Regions from separate parts of the Homo sapiens genome. Here all the other regions are linked to region 1. The links are contacts of gene promoters, found by promoter capture Hi-C in blood cells and fetal thymus (Javierre and others, 2016). All regions are on one chromosome and are shown on one strand. The core of a region is centred on a gene start or on the middle of the fragment in contact, and the rest is flanking DNA. Distances in the headings are between cores, read along the strand shown.

Region 1 (2,711 bases), core at 38-2,537:
AAGTAAGGCACTTCCATGAGGAGCACATACACCTATAGAGACATACATCCAACACTTGATAACATTTATGAAAGATGAGCCAACACACTGAACGCTAGAAATGCACATTATCAATCCCTACTCTTATTTTTTTAATGGGTTACTTTTTTCCACTGACACTCACCTTATGGTCCCAGCCCCAACCGGTCAACAGGATGTCAAAGTAGTTTAAGATTCCTCTACCATTGTACAGTGATTTAGTTTTGAAAGGTTAAACTTACACTTTGATATCTGACCCCGATAACTAACTACTCTTGAGGTAGGCATAAGAATACCAATCTAAAAGCATATGGGCAAGCAACTTAACATTGGTATTTATGAATCACGGTTATGTAACATTATTTTTAAAGTGCTCCCTTTCATACTGACATATCTAGTTTTTAAGATGTAAATGTCAGAAAACAAAAACAGAATACAAATATTAACCTCCAAAGATAACTCAAAAACACAGAACATACCAAAACTCAAAAGAAGTTCTGTGTTACTTCTGAGCACAGCAGAGACCATGTGGGATTCAGTATCACAAATAAAAGATGAACCATATACCCAGATTAATTAAAATTAAACATCTCTGGTTGATTAAAAAAACTTTTAACCCCAATTATTTAACTTTCAATAAACGCTACAATTAAATGACTAAGAAACAAGTCACTCGTCTGATTATTTTCTTTATTTCAAAATGACCCTACCTTAACCAATCTGCTTAACAGGTTCAGAACCTCTTCCTTCATCGGAACGGACGGGAAATTGAACCATTCCAGCAAATGAAGAAAAAGTTGCCTCTCCTGAATGAGATCAGCGTAGCAGATTAAGTTGTGCTCAATCTTGCAGAGAATACTCTTGAGAGCGCGCTCCCTGATCTCGGCCAGCTGATGACCTGTCAACGAACGGCACAAAACTATTTTATTTCCCGACTGCAAAGAGACTACGTTATTTATGCTGTGGGCAGGAGCGGCGTGAAGACGGAATAAACCAGTTTTTTTCAGAAGCAGGCCACTGGTGCCTTCGGGACGCGAACCGCGAAGTTTACACAAAGTCCGAGATGGGTCCCCGGGGGCTATCCTGACAAAGCGGGGGTGAAAGAGGGAGCGGTCGCGGAGCGGCCGGCCGCGGAAACGTGACACGACCATTCTCAGCAAGTGGCCAGAGCGCGGGGGGTGCCTTGGGCGAGGGGCAAGCTGACAGTTACCGAGTTTCCTGATGAGCCCTGCCAGGACCATCTCGTCCCGTCAATCTGCAGCCGCCGGAGAATTAAACTGCCGCGCCACTGCGTCCAGCCACAATTAATGTACCCCCGGAAACACGTCCTGTGGGACGGTGAGTTCCGCAACGCCTGCGCTCACCAGGAGTAGGAGTCATTACGTGAGCCCTTCGCGGCCCCAGCGTCGCCAGGAGAGCTTCCAGCCTCTCTAGAATCACTACTGCGCACTTCCTGGACAGCAGTCTCCGTCGCAAGAAGCGGAGGGAAAAAAAAAAGCAACAAGCAGGGATAGAACCAGCGTTGGCCGCCGCGCACGTCGGGAGTTGTAGTTCTGGCTAGGCCGTGCGTCCTGCACCGATCTCCGGGCCCGCCGCGGCGCCCGCTGGCCTGGGGTTCCGGCTTACAGCGCGGGAATTCGGGAACCCAGCGCGGGCTGCAGAGGCCCCAGCAGGAGCCCCGCCTCCCGGCTCGTCGACGGATTCGTTCTTGGCCCTGCCAATCTGATTCTCAGCTCCCAGAACTTCACGATTTAGAATGTAGACTTTTGCTTTGTGACAGTTCTCCCCATCCCCGACTACTAAATGACGAACCCTCTTTAACTGTGAAATGTACCTGCAAAGTCAAGCAGTGTCTTTGGATACCCAAGTTCAGATATGAACAAGCAAGCTACAAAAGCGGGGTGGGCGGGTATGAGTGAGCAGAAGAGAGAAACCGGGCTGCAAAAAAGGAAAATAAAGGCGGGACGTGGGGGTATGATTTGCTGAATGGTACCAAAGTTGATTTTTTGCACCGTGCACAGTGATCGAGCTGAGCAAATTATTTTTTTTTTAATTATAAGCAGCGGTAAGAACAACAACAAAATTACATTTGGAAAATGATTTGCATTTTCTCGGTCTGATCATTTCACGTTCCCTGGGAAAGGGATGTCAAGGCAGGTAAAGTGGGCCCTCGGTATCCCTAGGTAATTGGTTCCAGGACCCCCGCAGATACCCAAATCCACCCATGCTTAAGTCTCTTTTATAAAATGGTGTAGTATTTGCATATAACCTACACACATCCTCCTATATGCTTTAAATCATCTCTAGATTGCTTACAATACCTAATACACTGTAAATGCTATGTAAATAGTTGTTACACTGTACTTTTATTCATATTATTTTTTAATTGTTGTATTGTTATTTTCAACTGTGGGGTTTTTTCCCGAATATTTTCCATCCCGTGTGTTGAATTCTCTGTGTGCAACCAGTGGACAGCAAAGGCCTACTGTATTCCCATTCCTATTTTGCCAAAGAGGAAACTTAGAATCACAAAAGTACCCCCACACAAAGTCACATTAACTAGTAAGTGACAGATTGAGGAGCTGACCTGATGTTTCTTTGTTCTATTTAGAGTGCCTTGCTGCCTCCTCATGTGTGTCAATAGGAGAGTGATGATATTTGAGTTGGATCTTAAAGAGTAAGTAGGAGTTTGC
Region 2 (2,700 bases), core at 85-2,584, 1.4 Mb before region 1:
ACCTGGGAGGCGTAGGTTGCAGTGAGCTGAGATTGCACCACTGCACTCCAGCCTGGGCAACATAGCGAGACTCCATTTCAAAAAAAGAAAAAAAAAACACCTGAAATTTTGTAGAAACAAATAAATGTTTAACATGTCAATTTGGTGTTTTAATTTGAAATTGGGCATTTAAAAACTGTGATTATTTAATACTATTATTATTTTTGTTTTTTACAACGCCTATTTTTAGATACATAAGGTACCTGTGCAGGTTTGTTACATGGGTATGTTGCACCCAGGTAGGAGAGTATAGTACCTAATAGGTAGTTTTTCAACTCCCCTCCTCCCAGTATTCCACAATGTCTATTGTTTCCATTTTTATGTCCATGCATACTCAATGTTTAGCTCCCACTTTAAAGTGAGAACATGCGGTATTTGGTTTTCTGTTCTTGCATTCATTAGCTTAGGATTATGGCCTCCGGCTCCATCCATGTTGTTGCAAAGGACAATATTTCATTCTTTCTATGGCTGTGTAGTATTTCATGATATATATGTGAGGCAGGAGAATAGGGTCTGGAGCCTAAGGCCAACCTGAGGCTGACTTCTTGGAATTGAACCAAAAAGAAAACCTCACCTCTCTATGCCTAAGTGACAAGAAACCAGAGTCACCTGCCTCTACAAACCCCTCCCGCCCCCACACTCCCCTGTAGCACAAATGGGAAGTACCTCTGATTGGTCTGGGGCCAAGCCTTCATTTCAGCCTTTGATTGGTTGCAGGACCAGGCTCCATTTCAGCCTCTGATTGGTTGTGGGCCAAGCCTCCACTTCAGCCTCTGATGAGTCATGGGCCAATGCTTCATTCGCATAGGTTGTAACCAATTGGAGGCCTCTAAAGGGTACATATAGGTGTTACCAAATTCTTTTAGCTTAGTAAAAACTTCAAAGAGCATTGCAATCGGGGCTCTTGAGCCGCTTGCTCGAGTCTGCTCCCTGTCTGTAGAGTGTATGTTTGCTTCAGTAAATCTGTGCTTTCATTGCTTTGTTCTTTTGTTGTTTTGTTTGTGCGTCTTAGAATTCCGAATTCCAAGAACCTGGACAACTTGCCGTCAAGACTTTCCATCAGGTAACTTATGTACCACATTTCTTTATCCAATCCACCACTGATGGATACCTAGGTTGATTCCATGTCTTTGCTATTGTGAAAAGCAGTGATGAGCCTATGAGTGCACGTGTCTTTTTGGCTTCATGATCTATTTTCCTTTGGGTATATACCCAGTAATGGGATTGATTGCTGTGTTGAATGGTAGCCCTGTTTTAAGTTCTTTAACAAATCTCCGAATTGCTTTCCATGGTGGCTGAACTAATTTACACCCCCAGCAATAGTGTATAAGCATTCATTTAACTCTGCAGCCTCACCAGCATCTGTCGTTTTTGGACTTTTTAATAATGGCCATTCTAACTTGTGTGAGATGGTATCTCATTGTGGTTTCGATTTGTATTTCCCTGATGGTTAGTGATAATGAGCATCTTTTCACATGTTTGTTGACTTATTGTGTGTCTTCTTTGTGAAATGTATGTTCATGTCCTTCGCCCACTTTTTAATGGGGTCATTTGTTTTCTGCTTGTTGATTTAAGTTCCTTAAGCATTCTAGATATCAGACCTTTGCTGGATGCGTAGTTTGTGAATAATTTTTTCCCATTTTGCCGGCTATTTACTCTGTTGATAGGTTCTTTTGCTGTGCAAAAGCTCTTTAATTTAATTAGGTCCCACTTGTCATTTTTAGGGTTTTTCTTTTGCAATTGCTTTGGGAGACTCAGCCGAAAATTATTTGCCAAGGCTGATGTCAAGAAGGGTATTTCCTAGGTTTTCTTTTCGGAATTTTATAGTTTGAGGTCTTACATTTAAACCTTTAATCCATCTTGAGTTAGTGTTTATGTATAGTAAAAAGCAAGGGTCCAGTTTCATTCTCTGCATATGGCTAGCCAGTTATCCCAGTAACATGTATTGCACGAGGAGGCCTTTTCCCATTGCTTGTTTTTGTTGGCTTTTTCACAGATCGGATGGTTGTAGGTGTGTGGTTGTATTTCTGAGTTTTCTATTCCGAGCCTTTTGGCAAAGTCTTTAGGGTTTTCTAAGTATAGAATCATATTGTTAGCGAAGAGAGATAGTTTGACTTCTTTTTCAGTTTGGATGACTTTTATTTCTTTCTCTTGCCTGATTGCTCTGGCCAGGATTTCGAGTACTATGTTGAACAGGAGTGGTGAGAGTGGGCATCCTCGTCTTGTTCCAGTTCTCAAGGGGAATGGTTTCAGCTAAAAACTGTGATTTTCAATTACATTCCTAAAATACATTTCATTGGATAAAATATAGACAGAAAAATAAAAATATTGAAATGTGCACAAGTTGTTATTTGAATAGTACAGAATAGCCAGACTGACATGATATTATAAGTCTTTGGAAATGTTTTCTGTTAAGCCAAAGTCTCTGTGAAATTATAATTTTAAAAAAATGTGTAATAATAACAATGATTAAAATAGATCTTTGCTGATCTGAAAAATTTCTTTGTCTATCTTTCATATACACACTGTCATCACACAGTCACACATGCACTCCATAAATAAAAACTGGAAAGGCATAGAGAGATAAATATATATGTACCTCTATGTTTCTGGTAAGAAGGAAATAGGTTAATATATGTGAAATACTCAGGAAAATTCTCT
Region 3 (2,899 bases), core at 287-2,786, 1.3 Mb before region 1:
GGAGTGGGATCTCACCCTTGATGTGGTACCCGGGAATAGCCTTGAAGATTCCACAGCTACATCAATCTAGAGTGGTTATCTTGGTTCTTACTGTGTTGTGGTCTGTAGGGCTGGCAGCCATGTGAAGAGCTGACGTTCCCAGCGTCATCTTTCCACACACTATTAAGGTCACCTATCCTCCCATTTGTCACTCTTGTCTCCAGTCTGGACAAAGTTCTCCTGATTTATTTAGATCCTTTTGGGCTTTCAGATCCCCTGGAGCTCAGTAGCAGTAGATCATAGTAGTGGAAAAGGGCCCAGATGGTCTCGATTGCCTGACCTCGTGATCCGCCCGTCTCGGCCTCCCGAAGTGCTGGGATTACAGGCGTGAGCCACCGCGCCCGGCCTTCCCCTTGTTTCTAAATATGGAGTGGCTGCAAAATCTTCCCTTTTCCTGCCCACAGCTTGCCTACTCTGGGAATAGAAGCACTTATTCTCTCTCCATATTGGGCTCTGATTTGTGCTGTGGGTCAGCTTTTGGCTCCTTCTCCCTGAGACAGTGGAAACTGCCAGCTCTGTGGCCTGCATCCTGGGGGCTGGGGGTGAGACTTTTGGTGCCACTGCCTGTGGGTTGCTGGCCTAAAGGACAATTCTGTTCATTGGCCAGAACCCATGCCTTTAACACCTACACAGCATTATTGAAAGAAGAGAGAGGAGGTGTGGAAGGGAATTAATCTATCCCAGCTAGAGGGAGATAAAGAGGGCTAGCTGGCCGGGCGCAGTGGCTCACGCCTGTAATCCCAGCACTTTGGGAGGCCGAGGCGGGCGGATCACAAGGTCAGGAGATCGACACCATCCTGGCTAACACGGTGAAACCCCGTCTCTACTAAAAATACAAAAAATTAGTCAGGAGTGGTGGCGGGCGCCTGTAGTCCCAGCTACTCGACAGGCTGAGGCAGGAGAATGACATGAACCCGGGAGGCGGAGCTTGCAGTGAGCCGAGGTCATGCCACTGCACTCCATCCTGGGGCGAAAGAGTAAGACTCCGTCTCAAAACAAAACAAAAAAAAAGGGCTAGTTAGTTGGAGCTGCTGTTTTGGGGAGAAAATATATAGCTTCTGACACAAGAGGAAAATCCAGACAATTATCATTGAGCATATTATTTCTCAATGATATTTCCTCTTATTGCATTTCCAGAAAAAAAAACTTCTTAATTTCATGCTTCCAAGTCCATATACCATTTTTTTCTAAAACTGAGTTAAAATACTCATTTTATAAAAAGTAAATATTTAAAATTCACTAAAAATTTTATTTTTGAGTTTAAATAAATCAACAATTTTAACAAAAACTTTAAAAATTAAAAATATACATCAGCAAGAGAACAAAAGACCACTGAGATAAGTCATTTGACATCCTTATTTTGACTTGAAGAATACAATACATTTTTTGTTTGTTAAAGCTAAACATAATTCACTGTATTTTCTACCATTCTCTAAGGTTAAGGGAGGGAATTAAGTAAAATCTACTTTAAGGGATTTTGGCTAAATTTTTTGAAGCAATGATCCAAGGCGTAAAATGCTTCTCTGTGGCTTATCTGCCCATTTGAAGACTTCTCTGTGCATTGATAAATAATACATATTATTTGGAATCTTAACCTTGCTGTCACATATTTCTGGGCCCACTGCATTTGAGTCTACTCTTTGGACACATTTCCTTCTTACGTTCCTCACCTTTCATAAGAATATATTGCTACCAAACCTGACTAACTGTAAAATACTTGCTCATATACCCTTATGCTAATTGATATTCAATACTTATCCCAAGAACCACATTAAAAATGTGTGTATCAACATGAAGGCAATGGGGAGAGCTAATAAAATTTATTGACCAAGGTCAATATGATCACAATTTCAAAAAATGACTCAAACTCAGTGTGAAGAAGAGATTTGGGGGGTGAGCATGATGAGGAAACTGTTATGAGCCTGTTATAGTAATCTAGGTAGAAATATTCCACGTGTCCTGAGCTTGATGATGGAGGAGGTATGTGGATAGCTGAGAAATATTCAGGTGAAGGAAGTGACAATGATTGATGATTAAACGGATGTTGCAAATGCCTGAAGACACAGGGGAGGTGACAGAGAAGGAGAAGTTAAAGATTTCTGACCTTATCAGCCAGGTGGCCATTCACCAAGAGAACACAGAAACGAGAAGAAAAATGTAAGGGAAAAAGACAGTGAATTTGGTTCTGAATATGTTGAGGTTGATTTGGAAGTGTTTGGTAGGATTTTGGATTTATGAATGTAGAAAGGAAAGTTGAACAATGAGCAGAGAGATGATGGCTTAAGCCATGACAGTAGATGGGATGACTCTGGGTTGGGGCATTGAGGATTGACACCAAGCAAGACAGAGAAAAGGGAAAACTGCACAGAAATCCAAGCAGGAGGGAAGCAGGAAAACCATTCTTTGCATAAGCCCAAGGAAGAGAGTCTTTGAACAAGGGCATTGTCAACTGTGTATAATTCTGCCAAGGAGTCAAGTAAGGGCAGAACTGAATATTGTGTGGTGGAAAGTCTGAGGAATGCTGGTAGCAGAAGCGAGTGAGAAGGGTAAGTGCAACAGCTCTTTCAAGGCACTTGATGGTAAAAGGAAACAAAGAACTTGAGTGGAAGCTCCAAGACTGGATAAAAGATTATCCTTTTTGTAAATCTGTTTAAGTTCGTTATAGATTCTGGATATTAGAAGTTTGTCAGATGGATAGATTGCAAAAATTTTCTCTCATTCTGTAGGTTGCCTGTTCACTCTGATGATAGTTTCTTTTGCTGTTCAGAAGCTCTTTAGTTTAATTAGATCCCATTTGTCAATTTTGGTTTTCATTGCAATTGCTTTTGGGGTTTTATTCATGAAGTCTTTTCCCATGCCT
Region 4 (2,787 bases), core at 38-2,537, 1.5 Mb before region 1:
ACTTCTGTCTGCTGATAGATAGATGCAGCTTACTCAAGATAAGCAATTGACTAGAACACTTATGATCTGTTATCATCTTTTCCCTGAATTTTAAAAATGTTAAACATTAATGTAATCTCACACTCGTTCATATACTTAAAGTAGGCAAATCCTACTGATTTAAAAAGTAATAGTAGATTGGTTATGGATGTCTCATATATCTTCATCTGACTGAATGTCACACTTAAGAAGTCAATCCCTTGAGTCAGAAAATGTCTTCTACATGATGTATTTAATACTGAACTGTATTCCGCATCCTGTATCAATATAAGAAAGGTATCAACAGTATCAAAAGGACTGAGTAATAAGATTTCAGCAGAAATATTCTGATATCTTGATCTTCTTTGGCACATTTAAATTAATATTTATTTGGGCTGGTCATTATGGATTTAAGATGTTTATTTTTTAAATTTTATTTATTTATTTTTCTTGAGACGGAGTTTCACTCTGTTGCCAGGCTGGAGTGCAATGGCGCGATCTTGGCTCGCTCCAACTTCTGCCTCCCGGGATCAAGCGATTCTTCTGTCTCAGCTTCCCAAGTAGCTAGGACTACAGACATGCGCCACCACCCCGGCTAATTTTTGTATTTTTAGTAGAGACAGGGTTTCACCATGTTGGCCAGGCTGGTCTTGAACTCCTGACCTCATGATCTGCCCGCCTCGGCCTCCCAAAGTGCTGGGATTACAGAGGTGAGCCACCACATAGATTTAATGTATTTGAGTTAACCATAAGTATTTTTCTATTTTCGATGCTGAGATGATCACAAACCCCTATAATCTAGTTCCTGTGTCCTTTTGATCTGATTCCATTAACCCTTGAATGAAACTTTGGCTTATATGAAAACTTGCACACTCCCTTATCCTTTCCTTCCCCCGACTTGGAATCCGTGATCCTTCCAAAATACCCTGGCTTCTTTTCATGGAAAATTGATTTTTGAGGAACTATAATCTGGACTCTACATTTGCATATTAGGTTGGTCCCATCTGAGGTTCCATTGCCTCAAGGTCATTTTAGTGGCCAGAGGGATAAACAATTTTATATATGTATGTATACATATATAATATAATATAAACAATTTTGTATATGTATGTATACATATATGATATAAACAATTTTGTCTATGTGTGTATATAATATAATATATGTTATATGATCTCCTATACAATAATGCTCATTCAGTTATATATCAGTTGTCAAATTCATTTGGAGCAAAACTCTTCAGACAGACAATAGTCTTGAGATTTTGAAATCTCTGAACACCATTTCTACTTCAGTAAAAGTACAGAAAATTGTACGAATTAGTGCAAGCAAAGCTCTTTTTGGAGGAAATAAATCTTTATTTATTTTTATAAAACTGAACACATATCAAAGGAGAATGGCTTACAGTTATTGAGATTTAAGTTATAGCATCTGCTAAATACTGACTATTTTTCTCACATAAAAGTCCTTTCTCAGTCCTTTGGCTTTAGTACTCTACTCTGAGGAACTTTATTCATGTTGATATATTTTGAGTTACTCAAACATTAAAGTTCAGAAAATGGAGAAGTTAATTTCAGTAAAATACACTGCTTCAGGGGGGAATCTTCAATCTCTTTCCTGTGGGCCAGTTTTTATGGAAGCACAGGGCTTTTCTTCTATCGCCCTGTGTATTTTAAATTATTTCTAGTATTTCTATGGTGGATACCATAAACTGTTTGGTTAATAATAACCATAGCTTGAAGTCTTATTCCTTGAAATGTGTATCTGGCATTTCTTGAAGGCCTTCTTTTTTTTTCTCTCTCTCTTTTTTGGGATGGAGTGTTGCTCTGTCACCCAGGCTGGAGTGCAGTGGCGTGATCTCAGCTCATTGCAACCTCCGCCTCCCAAGTTCAAGCAATTCTCTGCCTCAGCCTCCCGAGTAGCTGGGATTACAGGCACCCACCATCATGCTCAGCTAATTTTTTTTTATTTTTAGTAGAGACGGGGTTTCACCATGTTGGCCAGGCTGGTCTTGAACTCCTGACCTCAGGCGATCTGCCTGCCTCAGCCTCCCAAAGTACTGGGATTACAGGCATGACCCACAGCGCCCGGCCTACTTGAAGGCTTTCTACAGAAATGTCTCATAGTGATCTTTCTTTTGTAACCCTCACCTGCCTGCAGACAACATGAATTCATCTATTTAGAGTTAAGGTTTTCCAGTTTTCTCTTAAAATTTTTAGGATACCATAGTTCCCAGATCTATGTATTAAAAAACTATGATTTTGAGTCATCCTTGCTATGCCAGTTACAAGTTTTACAGACCAGGGACCATCATGGCTAAACATCCATCGCACAAGTGTGGAGCTCCCTTCCAGATTCCTGGGCTGCGGACTTCCATAGACTGATTTAGCCTAGGGACAAAATAAAGACATCCAATGTATAAGGAGAACTATATGAAAAAGAAAGATAGAAAAGTTGGTGGGGAAGGTTATGCTAAGGCTAGAGCGACTCAGAGAAAAAGTAGACTCAGTTAATGATCTTTATGTAAATTCGCAAGTCTTTCTGAACTAAAACAGCTCAGAAATGGAGCCAAAGCCAACCACATCAGCCCCAAGCAGTGAAGGGGATTTAATGAGGTGGGTCTGAAAGAATAGTACCAAGGACTGATGCCTTTCACACACACTCTCTTTGTCGTGGAGAATAAGACTGCTGATTCAGAATTAAAAACTACTGTTGTTTACTAACAGCCAATTAAAACATTAAAGAACAGGGGAGAAATGTCATCGCATC
Region 5 (2,709 bases), core at 13-2,512, 1.5 Mb before region 1:
CTCACAGCAGCACGGAAAGGAGAATGTCAAGGAAAGGATGCTTCAAAGAAATCCAGGGGAAATACAACAGATCTAATTAGTTTGACAGAGTGAGCATTAGTTTGATAGAGTGAAAGGAAGAGGAAATTAGAATAGCAGAAATAATCAGGTGAGAGGTGACAGTGAAGAAAGTCAAGGAAATATATTTAGAAAGTATAATTATAAAAACAAGAGAGACGGGTAATTAGGGGCAGACATGTCAATTCGTCTACCACTGTTGATATTCTACTTACATATAACAACTGTGAATAAACACTGGGACAAACAAATGAAAGTAAACACTGTTAGAAAGGATTTGATCCATCACATTTTAATTCCACATTTAAAGTGTTCTATAAAAAGAATAAAAGAAAAAAAAAAGGAAGGAGAGAAAAAGGGAAGAAGGAAAAACATCTGTAAATGATCTTAATTATTTACCAACTAGGGAAAAGTACAGAATTAACAGGGATGTTTAAAATTGTAAGATCTAAAATTTTATTTTGACTCCTGCAAAATAAAAAGTGACTTCCCAGCACACATCATTTTCTTTAACAAAAATGACCAATTTACAGAAGACAGCACGTAATGGAACTAAAAATTTCATATTATCTGCACTTTCAACAAATCATAGAAATTACTAAGTAAAAACTTTACATGGCAGGTTGCAGAAATAAAATCTTTTAAATTATACTATCAAGTTAATTGATTCTGAATTTTAGTTTTAACTCATCAATCATATAAACAATTAGAAACAATTTCCACCTAATGAATATATTTTCTTAAATACTGACTAGTCATATCCTGCAAATTAAAAAGACATATTTTGACCTAATCTTTTCAAATTCAGATTTTTAACACAGCTAGACATAAAGAACCTATATCTTCTTCATTATCAATGACATAAACTGTCACAACTTACCACAATAGTAGATTTGGCATCAAATACTATTCTTTTCAATCTCTGCAAAATGCTATCACCTCCTTGGGCCTTCAAAAAAGGAAAAGAAAAATAAATTATTTAAGCACCATTACTTCATTTACTTGGTGTTACATAACCTTACAATTGCAGGCCAAATGGTTGACTCCAAAATATTACATAATCACCTGAAAAGGCCATGTGGTAAACATTTACTGTGTTGTTTTTTGTCTGTGTCATGTCCAGCATTCCTCCTGCCTGCTTGTGTTAATTCACCCTGATTCTACTCTAAACAATTCCTCCTCCTCTATTCATAACCCACACAGCTTGGCTGAAGCTGACCCACCTCTGAGGACAGCCTAACCAGCTTTTGAGTTTAGCTGGGACCGCAAAACCAGAGCTGCTGCAGGATACCTTTGCTACTGTGCAGGGAGAGCTTCCCTGAGGATGAAAGTGCTGAAGGGAAGAGAGTGAAAAATTCCTGATGAAAATCACTCAAATCCTATATTCGGCCATACCTGCAATCTGGCTCATTTTTTAAATTTCCAAGCTCTATGAGACAATAAAATCTGTTGTTAAATAGTCTGAGTTGCATTCCACTAACTTAAAAATAGAAGGCTGATTATTTATATAGGTGAGAGTTTCATTTCAACAAATTATTTTCAAAAATATTCTTAACTATTTGACTGTTTTTCAAACTTCTTCACCTTGACCGAAAGTAGTTATGTTTGTTACTCTGTAAGCAAATTTTAAATAAAGTTTGTGTAAAACTGAAACAACTCTCAAAAACTAGTAATTACATTTCACAAAAGCAATGAAGGCGCTTTCTTTTAAATTTTATCCTAGTCTATTGAATTAAGATGCATGCTGGTCACAACCTGATTGTGACTTGCGGTGGTTTCATGACTTTCTAATATAGGTTGCAATTCACAGTTTGAAAAACACTGCAGTTAAAATTTATAGGAAAAAAATAGAAAATTAAGACTATTCACTTATTTCTGAGAAATATTTTATAGGATTAAGTCTAGAACTCTCCACGGGGGCTTTTACTCTCAATAAATTTCCTCATTTCTTGAGAAATTGTCATCTTATTTGCAGATTTTCTTAGAAAACCAATCCTAACGACTTAATCCAATTGTACTTTTGGACCTAGAAACATACTAAGAGACAGGCAAGTTCACTATTAAGATTACCCCACACAGTGCAGACTTCCTAGCATCCCTAAGCCTCAACCTTAGCCAACAGCCCCTCCCCATCACCATGACAACCAAAAATACCCTCCAAATAACCCATAAAAGGACACTTCCATCTTTAGCAACCTCTGCCACAGAAGAACCTTCTGTATCTGGGAGAATGTACCTCTACTCTGCCTATAATTGGACAGAAGCAATGTATGGAGGTCCAGCCCTCTACTCCGGGTGATGGCCAACTATTCTTTTCAGAATCACAAGTAAAGAAATGAACTAGTTTCTCCTCTACCCCCTGTCCATCATCTCTTTGAAACAGAAGTGAACAACTTACTTCTACTGTGCCATCCAAAATGTTATTAATAAACTGGACCATGTCTTCAACATTCTTAATCTGTCTATCTAGCAAGAAATATTGCTGGTTTGAAGTATTCAGTACAACTACAGTTGGGACTGTCAATTCACTGAAAATATAAAAACAAATCAAAATATACATTAAACACAGCAATAGCAAGTATTCTGATATTCATTTATATCTCAGTAGCCATAATTATAGAAGCTATTTAACACATTTGTGCATATTTTATG
Region 6 (2,728 bases), core at 92-2,591, 1.4 Mb before region 1:
ACCAGAAAAGCAAGAAGGATATGTATGCATATATACACACAATGTATTATATAAGTATATATTATATAACAGTTTTAATTTTCCTGGCTTGAATGGACTGAAATAGGGATAAATATGCATGCTAGCCATTCACAAATACAGTAAGTTCTTTACCACTTACTTTCTGCCAGAAGTTTCTCATTAGTCCCTCTGAAATTTACTAGTGCCACCAATTCCCTTTTTCAGATTCTTCATCTGTATTTCACTAGATTAGTAGATTGTGATCATACAAGTATCTATGTACAGAATAAATATTTATTACTCTACCAAGTGTAAATTCCTAATAGAGGCAACCAACATTAGTAGAAAACAGAATAAAAATGAATTTAATTTTTAGGCTCGTACACATAGTGACAATTTTATCTAGCCCTATACATTTCAGTCACATTCTAATCTCCGTGGTTTTACTTCTTGAAGCATTTAACTTTTTGGTAATTATAGACTTCTCTCCAGCCCACATACAATATTACTTCCCCAGTGCAGTCTAATAGGAGCAATGCAGAGCTGTGTTTTTCTAGATGTAAACTTCTATTCTAAGGTGTCAGTTTTAAAGATATGCATGTTCTGTCTTAACACGCTTATCCATATACATATACACAACATATACTTTTTACTTTCTTGGAATAAATGAACAATTCTCAGAGTAAGTACATTCTGCAGTTCTCAGTGACTTCAGTCTATAATCCATAGACAGGCCAAAGAATAAGAGAAAAAAGGAAGCTTTCCATGGCTTTGTCTTCCTACTCTCCTCTTTTAAGAAACAATCCCACGGACGTGATGAGTCATGGTTCCTGTGTCCATGAATCAACATTTGCATGCAATCCGCATGAGGCAATCAGTCTTTTTTTCTATCACAAGAGAACATTTTCCAAGAATATAGGATATGCTATTACTTATAAATCCATCTAATCTTTTAAATTCTTCTTCCTGGAATATCAGTGAGTGGGTGGCTTCGACTGAGATGTGAATGTATTTTTTTCTGCATTCCCATCTAGTGGGAAAATTCTCTTCTTGACTAGTGCACAGAAATCAACTCAGAAAACTCAGGGACTCATTTTTTTCCATTGTCCTTGACTAGAACCTCCTCATCAAATAGATGAAACTTTATAGTTTTCTTTGCACTCTGAGTACTGTTCAGTTTTATGAATAATTATCCAGTGTATAAAAGTTTCTCATATACTGAGAATTTATATATTTCTGTTGACTTTCATAAAGACTTCCCAGGTAGAAAATTTGGAGTAAGGCCAGGAAAGCTGATCCTCTTATAGGCCTATGTGTACCTAAACATTTGGGAAGCTGAGGTTTGGCAATACCAAATCTCAAGTAACAGAGACTGAGATAAAATAATTTGAACTGTCCCAAACTTCAGAATCAGTTTTCAAATTTCACTGCAGAGACCTCCTTTATCACTTGTAAAATGTTTGTTCTGTGTCCTTTAAGCTGAGCTTCAGTCCTCCCTTTCCATTTTATCATTTTATCTTTTTTTTCTTTTCTTTACTTTTTGAGACAGTCTCGCTCTGTTGCCCAGGCTGAAGTGCAGTGGTGCAATGTAAGCTCACTGCAATCTCAGCCTCCTGGGCTCAAGCCATCCTCCCACCTCAGCCTCCCAAGTAGCTGGAATTACAGGCTGTGCCACCACGCCTGGCTAATTTTTTATTTTTTTATTTTTAGTAGAGACGGGGTTTTGCCATATTGCCCAGGCTGGTCTCAAACTCCTGGCCTCAAGTGATCTAACCGCCTTGGCTTCCCAAAGTGCTAGGATTACAGGCGTGAGCCACTGCGCCCAGCCCATTTTGTCTTCTTAATTTATTTTCTATGTAAGAAAAGTAGCATGCTTCATTAAATGTTCAATTTTTTTCTTAATGAGATTTAAAATCCAGGTTAGAAGCTTCAGCAAATTAAAAATGCTACAAAGGATATTATTTTTTATATATGTATGAAAGACACAGATTTCTACTTTACATATTTAAGAAATTATATATATAAAGTATATATATATATATTCCTCAATGAATACATTGACATGCAAATCTGGTTAATACTATTTAATGTAATATTTGTAAATATTTGAAAATCAAGCTTATTTTGTTACTTTATTAACTGTCACTCATGGAATATTCAATAAACCTTTACCATTTTTTGACTCTCCAGTGTCTATTTTGTGTTTTGGCAATTCACTGCCAAATGAAACAGAGTCTACACCTGTGCATAGATTATAAAAATGCCAGTAAGTCTCTACCAGGGTTTCCTTTGCAATGAGGGTACAGACACTTGACTTAGGAATAGTGCATCAGAGGTGGCCACCTAGACTTTTAAGCCAAGCCAATACCGCAAGGCAATAGACAGCATCTAGAATCCATACCTAAGCGAGAAGCAGCAGCAATAAAGACAACTTGTTTCCAGAGGCAGCGGTGGCCTCTGGTGCTTAGTGACACCACTCACTGTCCCGTATTGGTGATCTTGAGGTCCCGCTGTGATGTCTCTACCTTAATGGTGGCCGAAATAGTGTGCTTACAGGAAGATTTTGATGGCTTTCTCATCAGTGTTCCTGGCTGCATGTATTCCCCAGAAATATTTTGAGCTATAATGTCAATTTCCGCTCAAATTTGCTAATTTGAATACGTTTGCTTGCCAGACACATATTACCAGGAGAGTGTAGAGGCAACAGACAGAGGAGGTTACAGGCAGT
Region 7 (2,700 bases), core at 113-2,612, 1.4 Mb before region 1:
CCTCACTATGGGTTTGGCTTCAAGGTAATTTATGAATGTTTCATCTAATTATTACAGTTACAAAACAATGGCTGTAATTCTTAAAATACAAGAAATGCTCTCAGGTCGTCATATCTCTTATGCTGATATTACAAGACCAATTGAATTCTGCCATAATGCCAAAATATTCAGAAATTCCCTTTTTAGCAGGTATGTGAGTCCTAAAGAGATGCCAGAGGCTTTAAAGAAAAGTTCAACTTCTTGAACTTAGTCTTGAAAAACTAGTGGAACTTGGATAGGTGCTGAAAGCAAGAGGAATACTCTACTTTGAAGAAGTAATTGGCAAAAAGGGTTTTGAACACAAATTAGCATAGAGCATAAAAGAATGGTGAGTAATTTATCTGATTGGAGCAGAAAAAATATACCTTTGTGAGTATCAGACGTTGTACTCAATACATAGAACAGGAAAAATTGATAGAGCATCTTAACATTGCACACAGAAAAATGTGGCCTTTACATATCATACAAAGGGGACAATTGCAAGTTTCTGAAAAGAGGTGGAGTATCTGTGCCTCTTTTCATCATCTTTACCATAATCATCATCATCATCATTTTGCCAACACATAATAGCATTTTCTGCTTGCAAGGTGATTTACATACATATCCACAATTTTGATAGCTTTGCAAGAAAATGAACATTATTTTACACATTATTTTCATTTTGCACTTGAAGGAACCTGCTGTTCAGAAACGTTCAATGATTTGCTTAAAGCCACAGATAAAGAAAGTGAGGGAACCAGAATTTCAAATAATGTCTTTCTGGCTCCAGAGCTATTTCCACGATGTTGTGCTGGTATTCTAGGAATGTGAATCTGGCAGAAGTCGAGCAGAATGGTTTGAAGTGGACACTGGGATTTTAGGGTGCAGGGAGGAGGTCGTGAGACAACAGCCCAAAGATCCATTCCGATATTCTATAAATCCAGACGAATTACTGTTCTATCAGTTGGGCCACACTTTTCCTTTGGGAATTGAGAGAAGAGACTGACGCTGCAAATAAGGGGTAATTTTTACATTTAAATTAGCGGCCCTCAGATTCAACACTTATGCTTTTCTCTCTCTTACATTTTCTTAAATCTACTTAGAGAAGGTATCTTTTGCATTCTCAAAGAAAATGTCATCACTGATTTGCACTGAATATTACCTATTCACAAATGAGATGTGTGAGGTGGCCAGGAATAACACTGGGGATGTACTGACTTTCCTCTGTTTCTTTTTGATACATGGTATCAACGAACACTCAGCGACCAAATACTCTTAAAACTATGGAATGACCAAGTTATTATCAAATAAAGGCATTGTATAAGTTTCATTTCAATAGGTGAAAAGCATAAATAAAATTCACATTGTAATAGATAGTGTGAAATACAGTACATTCACAGTAAAAAAGAATAGAACTTATTTATTAACATGTTTTCCTTCATATATCCAAACCTTAAAGACATTACTTCTTCTCAAAGTAGAACTAGTATCTGGGATAACATTCATTTTCTTCTTCTTTTTTTTCAATGAAATAAAAATTATAGCTTATTTCATAACAACGAGGTTTTTTTGTTCAATGTATACATGATGGTAACTATGCTATCATTTTATGAACATACTGCCTACTAGTTTAGAATCATACTATCATTAAGTAGGCTTTACTGAAGGAGTATCTTTTTGCCGTACACGAAAACAGATGAGGATAGTTGAAATGCAAAGATTTGGTCACTGACCTTGAGATTTTATTTTTGTACAGGTTTAGGTTGCATTCTAAGAATATATTCTATAGAAGACATTTTGTATAACTAGTGCTCCATCCTCAGTGCCCTGACTAATTGTAGATGCTCAATGGAGATTGTGAGCTTGAGACCTTGATTGTAAAATGGAAAACTAGATATTGTATTGGAGGTTGTGCTCAAGGCCATTTAATTGTAGTCATAGCTTTGCAAAGGACTGTTAACATTATTATATACTTAAATATTATCCAAGTTGATTTATATTTAATGATATTTCCTAAAAGAATTGCTGTTGTGTGTCATAAATATATTAAAATATTTGATGTTAAAATTTTGATAGAAGGATTTTTTTAGTAGCTAAAGAAAAAGGTGTCCTTAATATTGAGAAAAAAAACATATGCTCACTGAAGAATTTATAAATATATCTTATCATAGTGTCTGTTTCAAATTTGTAGAATTAAAGTTTCCAAAAATAAAAGTGAGATTTTTAGTCACTGACTCGGGAGCATATGTTTCTAAGCTGCAGTAAACGTTTGGAAATATAACACAGGTAAAGAGGCAATAGTTGCATGAAGAAAAACCTGTAGCAACTTTAGACTCATTTTCATTTGGAAATAGTTTTGAGAGTCTTTCATACAATCTTTCCTTTCCTCCCTTAGTGAATTTAGGATTGTGAAGGCATTAGGTGAAAGATTACATTTATGACCTCTGCAAAAGATCAAATAGTCTTATTAGTCAGCCTATATTCATGAATTTTCTATCTTCTTTTGACATGAAGGGTTTTGAACAAGCGTTTCTTCTCTGGATGAGAAGAAAATGTATTTCACAATAAAACATGAAAATTATAAGGTGCTCAGTGGGATTATAACATTTGGTAGCACAGGAAAAAAGAGAAAGATGTGGAAGTGCCATAATCCATTGGTGTTTCATATAATTCTAGAAGGTT

The links. The method cuts DNA at HindIII sites, captures the fragments that hold promoters and counts their contacts. A CHiCAGO score of 5 or more calls a contact.
Region 2: a fragment that was not itself captured here is called in contact with the fragment with the promoter of RTTN in region 1 in 1 of 17 cell types (M0 macrophages); the score reaches 8.8 in M0 macrophages.
Region 3: a contact is called between a fragment that was not itself captured here and the fragment with the promoter of RTTN in region 1, in 3 of 17 cell types (monocytes, M0 macrophages and M2 macrophages). The highest score is 6.2, in monocytes.
Region 4: a contact is called between a fragment that was not itself captured here and the fragment with the promoter of RTTN in region 1, in 10 of 17 cell types (total CD8 T cells, monocytes, total B cells and 7 more). The highest score is 18.5, in total CD8 T cells.
Region 5: a fragment that was not itself captured here is called in contact with the fragment with the promoter of RTTN in region 1 in 10 of 17 cell types (total CD4 T cells, naive B cells, non-activated CD4 T cells and 7 more); the score reaches 14.2 in total CD4 T cells.
Region 6: a contact is called between a fragment that was not itself captured here and the fragment with the promoter of RTTN in region 1, in 6 of 17 cell types (monocytes, M0 macrophages, M1 macrophages and 3 more). The highest score is 19.1, in monocytes.
Region 7: a contact is called between a fragment that was not itself captured here and the fragment with the promoter of RTTN in region 1, in 1 of 17 cell types (M1 macrophages). The highest score is 6.5, in M1 macrophages.

Annotation. Positions count from the first base shown.
Region 1 is chr18:70,204,400-70,207,110 of GRCh38, forward strand. RTTN (rotatin) reads right to left here and starts at 1,288. Exons shown (of 49, transcript NM_173630.4): 1 at 1,229-1,288; 2 at 729-916. The coding sequence starts at 1,259. LOC105372180 (a long non-coding RNA gene) reads left to right here and starts at 1,390. Exons shown (of 3, transcript XR_935599.3): 1 at 1,390-2,175; 2 at 2,630-2,695. RefSeq lists enhancers at 988-1,117, 1,328-1,437, 1,356-1,985, 1,448-1,687. The HindIII fragment of the contact is 5,232 bases long and covers 1-2,711 here.
Region 2 is chr18:68,822,315-68,825,014 of GRCh38, forward strand. The region is part of intron 1 of CCDC102B (coiled-coil domain containing 102B); the gene reads left to right. Among named protein-coding and RNA genes, the nearest start is that of CCDC102B, 26 kb to the left of the region's middle. The HindIII fragment of the contact is 3,269 bases long and covers 1-2,700 here.
Region 3 is chr18:68,866,904-68,869,802 of GRCh38, forward strand. The region is part of intron 4 of CCDC102B (coiled-coil domain containing 102B); the gene reads left to right. It also overlaps the pseudogene SDHCP1. Among named protein-coding and RNA genes, the nearest start is that of CCDC102B, 70 kb to the left of the region's middle. The HindIII fragment of the contact is 6,831 bases long and covers 1-2,899 here.
Region 4 is chr18:68,730,536-68,733,322 of GRCh38, forward strand. It overlaps a transcript of CCDC102B not described here. Among named protein-coding and RNA genes, the nearest start is that of TMX3, 17 kb to the left of the region's middle. The HindIII fragment of the contact is 4,512 bases long and covers 1-2,787 here.
Region 5 is chr18:68,678,526-68,681,234 of GRCh38, forward strand. It overlaps TMX3 (thioredoxin related transmembrane protein 3), which reads right to left. Exons shown (of 16, transcript NM_019022.5): 14 at 2,456-2,585; 15 at 938-1,006. Among named protein-coding and RNA genes, the nearest start is that of TMX3, 35 kb to the right of the region's middle. The HindIII fragment of the contact is 9,223 bases long and covers 1-2,709 here.
Region 6 is chr18:68,840,211-68,842,938 of GRCh38, forward strand. All of the region lies in intron 3 of CCDC102B (coiled-coil domain containing 102B), which reads left to right. Among named protein-coding and RNA genes, the nearest start is that of CCDC102B, 43 kb to the left of the region's middle. The HindIII fragment of the contact is 1,168 bases long and covers 758-1,925 here.
Region 7 is chr18:68,799,429-68,802,128 of GRCh38, forward strand. All of the region lies in intron 1 of CCDC102B (coiled-coil domain containing 102B), which reads left to right. Among named protein-coding and RNA genes, the nearest start is that of CCDC102B, 2.7 kb to the left of the region's middle. The HindIII fragment of the contact is 5,766 bases long and covers 1-2,700 here.